Linked DNA regions of Homo sapiens: region 2 is linked to region 1. The links are contacts of gene promoters, found by promoter capture Hi-C in blood cells and fetal thymus (Javierre and others, 2016). All regions are on one chromosome and are shown on one strand. The core of a region is centred on a gene start or on the middle of the fragment in contact, and the rest is flanking DNA. Distances in the headings are between cores, read along the strand shown.

Region 1 (3,455 bases), core at 606-3,105:
TTTATATAAAAAGAAAGGGAGAGATGTTGCGGGAAGTCAGGGACCCTGAATGGAGGGACTGGCTGGAGCCATGGCAGAGGAACATAAATTGTGAAGATTTCATTTTAATATGGACATTTATCAGTTCCCAAATAATACTTTTATAATTTCTTATGCCTGTCTTTACTTTAATCTCTTAATCCTGTTATCTTTGTAAGCTGAGGATGTTTGTCACTTCAGGACCACTGTGATAATTGTGTTAACTGTACAAATTGATTGTAAGACATGTGTTTGAACAATATGAAATTAGTGCACCTTGAAAAAGAACAGAATAAGAGCAATTTTTAGGGAACAAGGGAAAACAACCATAAGGTCTGACTGCCTGCAGGGTCGGGCAGAAAGAGCCATATTTTCCTTCTTGAGAGAGGCTATAAATGGACATGCAAGTAGGGAAGATATCACTAAATTCTTTTCCTAGCAAGGAGTATTATTATTAATACCCTGGGAAAGGAATGCATTCCTGGGGGGAGGTCTATAAACAGCCGCTCTGGGAATGTCTATCTTGTGCAGTTGAGATAAGGACTGAGATACGCCCTGGTCTCCTGCAGTACCCTCAGGCTTACTAGGGTGGGGAAAAACTCCGCCCTGGTAAATTTGTGGTCAGACCGGTTCTCTGCTGTCGAACCCTGTTTGCTGTTGTTTAAGGTGTTTATCAAGACAGTATGTGCACCGCTGAACATAGACCCTCATCTGTAGTTCTGCTTTTGCCCTTTGCCTTGTGATCTTTGTTGGACCCTTATCAGTGGTTCTGCTTTTGCCCTTTGCCTTGTGATCTTTGTTGGACCCTTATCGGTAGTTCTGCTTTTGCCCTTTGTCCTTTCCCTCAGAAGCATGTGATCTTTGTTAGACACTTATTAGTAGTTCTGCTTTTCGCCCTTTGAAGCATGTGATCTTTGTACCTACTCCCTGTTCTTACACCCCCTCCCCTTTTTGAAACCCTTAATAAAAACTTGCTGGTTTGAGGCTCAGGTGGGTATCACAGTCCTACCGATATGTGATGCCACCCCCGGCGGCCCAGCTGTAAAATTCCTCTCTTTATACTGTCTCTCTTTATTTCTCAGCCGGCTGACACTTATAGAAAGAACCTACGTTGAAATATTGGGGGTGGGTTCCCCCAGTACGCTAGTCCTGCTGATGAGCAAAGAAGGTGTTGATGGCATTTTGATCAACAAGAAATGTTATGAAACGGCCTCCCACCTCTGGCATTCCTAGTACTGACCTATCTCTCCCTTCCCTTCCACCGCTCCCCACAGCTTAGCACCCCTTTCGTTCCCATACACATGTACATTTTTATTTTGGGGACCATTAACCCACAGCCCTTATCGCTGCCAAAACCACATGGGCTGGAGGGCCAGGGCTGCATGGACAGTCACACCACTGCACACCAGCCTGGTGATGGAGCAAGACTCTGAAAAAAAAAAAAAGAAGCATAAAAGACCTTTAACAGTCCCTGCTACTTGTGACCCTCCTGAATCTGTCATCTGTCCAGTGATTTTGATTTTGCAACATGGAAAGTTCCAAGCCTTGACTCCTGAGCCCAGATACCATTCGCACTCTGGAGTCATTCAAGCATGGGGAGCTCCTCAGAGGGTGATCAACTGACCTCCCTTACCTAGCTCCTCCTCCGGAGGTTTGCCCTGGAGTTGAGCCAGCCCTTGAGGAGGCCTTCACTCCCACCGCCTCTCTCCCTTCTGGATATGAGCTCAGGCCTGGCTGGGCTCCAGGAGAATCTTTCCACAAGGCAAGAGATAACACAAAGTCAAGGTGAAGATCAGGGTAGCCCTTTAAAAGGCCTCCTTGTGCCCTAGAGTTGCCACAGCTCTTCTACTCCACTGCTGTCTATCTTGCCTGCCGGCACCCAGCCACCATGTGGGAGCTCGTGGCTCTCTTGCTGCTTACCCTAGCTTATTTGTTTTGGCCCAAGAGAAGGTGCCCTGGTGCCAAGTACCCCAAGAGCCTCCTGTCCCTGCCCCTGGTGGGCAGCCTGCCATTCCTCCCCAGACACGGCCATATGCATAACAACTTCTTCAAGCTGCAGAAAAAATATGGCCCCATCTATTCGGTTCGTATGGGCACCAAGACTACAGTGATTGTCGGCCACCACCAGCTGGCCAAGGAGGTGCTTATTAAGAAGGGCAAGGACTTCTCTGGGCGGCCTCAAATGGTAAGTGGTGCCCATCTCCTCCCTGCCCCCTTCACCACCCCCTGGGATTGTTCAGGTCTTCAGACCATGCCTAGAATGGGGCTTCCAGCTCCAACAACCTGTAATTCTTCCCAAAGTAGACTAGTGGGATGATGTGAAGGGAGTGAACCTTCAGACCCCCACCCAGCCTCTAAATTAGGCAGGAAGAATTAAAGGAATGTCTCCTCTACCAGGCTGCCCAGGAGGTGGGATGGGAGGACCACAGTGGTCTGAGGGGTCAAGGAATCCTCACTCCACTCCTCTCTCTGAGCCTAGACTTCTCTAATGGACTGAGAAGGTGCATGTACAGCACTTAGCCTAGCACCCAGCACAGTAAGTGCCCCTTATACAGCCAGGATTCATGTTACTTTTCATGGAAAATGGGGGCAGTGACTACTGTCCTCCATGAAAGCTGCTGGGGAGAATTAGCCTAGCTATTGCAGGCTGGGATTGCTGCTTTCCTGGTGCTATTTCCAGCTACTCAGGCTCACAGGGGCAGTTTTCTACAATGACATTTCAGGGTTGCTGATGAGCCTCCCACTCAGCAGGGCCCCCAGCCTCTCAGCATTTTTTTTTTTTTTTTTTTTTTTTGAGACAGAGTCTCTCTCTGTCGCCCAGCCTGGAGTGCAGTGGCCAATCTCAGCTCACTGCAACCTCTGCCTCCCGGGTTCAAGTGATTCTCCTGCCTCAGCCTCCTGAGTACCTGGGACTACAGGAGCATGCCACCATGCCCGCTAATTTTTTGTATTTTTAGTAGAGATGGTGTTTCACCATGTTAGCCAGGATGGTCTCGATCTCCTGACCTCGTGATCCTCCCACCTTAGCCTCCCAAAGTGCTAGGATTATAGGCGTAAGCCACTGTGCCCTGCCAGCCTCTCAGCTTTGATCAAGCCAAGGGTTGGTTTATTTTTTCTTGGACCAATCAGCCAGGTCTGCTGACCAACTACCTAGCTCCCACCTCTGCTGGCTTCCTCCCGGGGGCAGAGAAGATGGAGAAGGCTAGTCATGTGGATCTTCAGGGTCAGGAAATGGAAAAGGGAGGCTTTGGACCCTTTTGCTTTGGGGGGCACCTCTAGGAGGAGGCGGCTCGGCCCAAGTCCAGACTGGGTAGACAAAACATCTGCACTCTCCAAATGTGGGCTTGTGGCTGGGTATGCAGGCTTGCAATGGAAGGGTAAACCTGAGTGAGGTGAGCTGTGCCTTTAGCTCAGCTAAGGGCTCAGGGAAAAGCAGA
Region 2 (3,455 bases), core at 452-2,951, 87 kb after region 1:
TCAAGTCCCACCGAAAACTCGCTGTCCAAGGTTATTTCATACACTTCACAATGCTATGTTGTTCTTGCAAGAAAGCTGACCCCAAGCTCTGCAATAATGAACAGGACCTGGTAAGGCCACAGCAGGTCCCACTAAGCCAGGATTTCTCCACCTCGGGACCACTGACATTCTGGGCTGGAAAAGTCTTTGTCGTGGGGGGCTGTCCTGAGCATTCCAGGATGCTAAGCAGCATCCCTGGCCTCCACTCACTAGATACCAGTGGCACTCCCAAGCTGTGACAGTGACTAATGTCCTCTGGAAGGACAAAATTCTCCCCAAACCTAAATTCAGACATAGAACAGAATAAAGAAAGTCACTTGCAAAATCTCCAGATCTCAGTTCCTGAAGTTAGTCTGGGAGTTGACACTAACTTACAAACCATAATACACTCTGAGGACTGCCAACAGCAATAATGGTGATAATTATTATTATACTTATTAATCATTGAATATATTCCAAGAGCTTTACATATATTATGTCTTTTCACCTCATGACAACCCCATACTAGTACAATTCCCATTTTATAGATGAGGAAGCTGAGGCACAAAGAGGTTATGTAACTTGCTCAAGGACAGTATCAAATTTGGAACTCAGGTGGTCTGACCCCAGAGCTCATGACATGACCACTAGGTTTGACTGTACCAAATCCCTACTCTGGAAAGTTGTTAGATCAGTATCCTCCAATATGTAGTCACTATCTACATACAGCTATTTAGTTTAAATTATTTTAAGTAAATATCACATTGGCCAGGTGTGGTGGCTCACACCTGTAATCCCAACACTTTGAGAGGCCAAGGCGAGCAGATCGCTTGTGCCCAGGAGTTCAAGACCAGCCTGGCCAACGTGGTGAAACTCCATCTCTACAAAAAATACAAAAATTAACTGGGTGTGGGTGCGCACCTGTAGCTCCAGCTACTAGGAGGGCTGAGATAGGAGGTTTGCTTGAGGTGGAGATTGCAGTGAGCTGAGATTGCACCACTGCACTTCAGCCTGGGCAACAGAGGGAGATCGTGTCTCAAAAAAAAAAAAAGGAAAGAAAAAAGAAAACCTTGATTGGGCGCAGTGGCACACACCTGTAATCTCAGCACTTTGGGAGGCCAAGTCGGGCAGATCGCCTGAGGTCAGGAGTTCGAGAACAGCCTGGCCAACATGGCAAAACCCCATCTCTACTAAAAAATACAAAAGTTAGCTAGGCATGGTGGTGCATACCTGTAGTCCCAGCTACTCAGGAGGCTGAGACAGGAGAATCACTTGAACCCAGGAGGCAGAGGTTGCAGTGAGCCAAGATCACACCACTGCACTCCAGCCTGGGTGACAGAGTGAGACTCTGTCTCAAAAAAAGAAAGGAAAACCTTATGGTAAGTGAAATAAGCCACAAAAGACCACATAGTGTACCATTCACTTTATATGAAATGTCTAGAACAGGCAAATCCATAGGAATGGCAAGTAGATCAGTGGTCACTAAGGGATGGAAGAAAAGGGGCTAGAAAGGGAAGTGACTGCTAATGGCTATGGGGTTTCTTTCTGGGGTAAAGAAAATATGCTAAAATTGGGCCGGGCGTGGTGGCTCACACCTGTAATTCTAGAACTTTGGGAGGCTGAGGCGGGCGGATCACAAGGTCAGGAGATCGAGACCATCCTGGCTAACACAGTGAAACCCCATCTGTACTAAAAATACAAAAAATTAGCCAGGTGTGGTGGTGGGCACCTGTAGTCCCAGCTACTCAGGAGGCTGAGGCAGGAGAAGCGCTTGAACTCTGGAGGCGGAGTTTGCACTCCAACCTGGGCGACGGAGCAAGACACCGTTTCAAAAGAAAAAAAAAAAGAAAATATGCTAAAATTAGCACTGATAGTCACAAATTCTGTGACTATACTGAAACACCAATTTATGTATACTTTAAAAGGGTGAATTTTTTTGGCATGTAAATTACCTCAATAAAGTTTTTTTTTCTTTTTTTGAGACAGGGTCTCACTCTATCGCCCAGACTGGAGTGCAGTGGCGTGATCTAGGCTCGCTGCAGCCTCTGCCTATGGGGCTCAAGCGATTCTCCTGCCTCAGCCTCCTGAGTAGCTGGGATTACAGGTGCACGCTAATTTTTCTATTTTTGGTAGAGATGAGGTTTCACCATGTTGGCCACGCTGGTCTAGAACTCCTGACCTCAAATGATCCACCCGCCTCAGCCTCCCAAAGTGCTGGGATTACAGGTGTGAACCACTGCGCCTGACCTGATTATATCTCAATAAAGTTGATATAAAAAATTAAATATGGGCAGCCAGGCGTGGTCGCTAACGCCTGTAATCCCAACACTTTGAGAGGCCAAGGCGGGCAGATCATCTGAGGTCAGGAGTTCGAGACCAGCCTGGCCAACATGGTGAAACCCCGTATCTACAAAAAAAATACAAAAAAAATTACCCAGGCATGGTGGCAGTGCTTGTAATCCCAGCTATTTGGGAGGCTGAGGCATGAGAATCCCTTGAACCCGGGAGTCAGAGGTGGCAGTGAGCCAAGACTGCACCATTGCACTCCAGCCTGGGCAACAAGAATGAAACTCCATCTCAAAAAATAAATAAATAAATAAATAAATATGGAGGGCCAGGAACAGTGGCTCACGCCTGCAATCCCAGCACTTTGGGAGGCTGAGGCAGGAAAATCACTTGAGCCAAGGAGTTCAAGACCAGACTGGGCAATATAGTGAGACTTCTGCTCTATAAAAAAATTTTTTTAATTAAAAAAAATTAGGCCAGGCATGGTGGCTCACGCCTGTAATCCAAACACTTTGGGAGGCCAAGGTGGAAGGATCACTTGAGCCCAAGGAGTTCTAGACCCACCTGGGCAACATGGTGAGACACTCATCTCTACTTAAAAAAAAATTTTTTTTATTAGAGAGAAAAAAAAAAGAAAAAAAATTAAATATAGGGCCAGGTGTGGTGGCATGCACCAACAATCCTAGCTCCTTGGGAGGCTGAGGCAGAAGGATCGCTTGAGCCCAGGAGTTCAAAGCTGCAGTGAGCTACGACTACACCACTGCATTCCAGCGACAGAAACCCTATGGGCAACAGAGCAAGATTCTGTCTCTAAAAAATAAAAATATGTAAATAAACAAATATGTTTCAAAATTAAATATGTTTCAAAATTCAGTTCCTCAGTTATCCTAGCCACATTTCAAATGCTCAGCAGCCACCTGGCTAAGTGGCTACTGAATTGGACGGCACAGAGAGAGATCATTTCCAGCATCACAGAAGGTTCTACTGGATGGTGCAGCCTTAGATGAATGGATGAAAGGCCTCCTGACCATGTGACAACAGCCTCTCTTTCGAGCCTCCCCCACTTCCACACTCCTCTACACATCCACACACAAAGCTTCTGCCACAGAGTACATGTCACCTCCAAACACACTCTCCATTTTCATTCTTCC

Evidence for each region. Contacts are between HindIII fragments. The CHiCAGO score rates a contact against its expected background, and 5 or more counts as called.
Region 2: a fragment that was not itself captured here is called in contact with the fragment with the promoter of CYP17A1 in region 1 in 2 of 17 cell types (M1 macrophages and M0 macrophages); the score reaches 5.7 in M1 macrophages.

Annotation. Positions count from the first base shown.
Region 1 is chr10:102,835,813-102,839,267 of GRCh38, reverse strand. It overlaps CYP17A1 (cytochrome P450 family 17 subfamily A member 1), which reads left to right and starts at 1,855. Exons shown (of 8, transcript NM_000102.4): 1 at 1,855-2,203. The coding sequence starts at 1,907. RefSeq lists a promoter at 1,616-1,895. The HindIII fragment of the contact is 11,808 bases long and covers 1-3,455 here.
Region 2 is chr10:102,748,937-102,752,391 of GRCh38, reverse strand. All of the region lies in intron 1 of WBP1L (WW domain binding protein 1 like), which reads right to left. Among named protein-coding and RNA genes, the nearest start is that of WBP1L, 6.7 kb to the right of the region's middle. The HindIII fragment of the contact is 3,402 bases long and covers 1-3,402 here.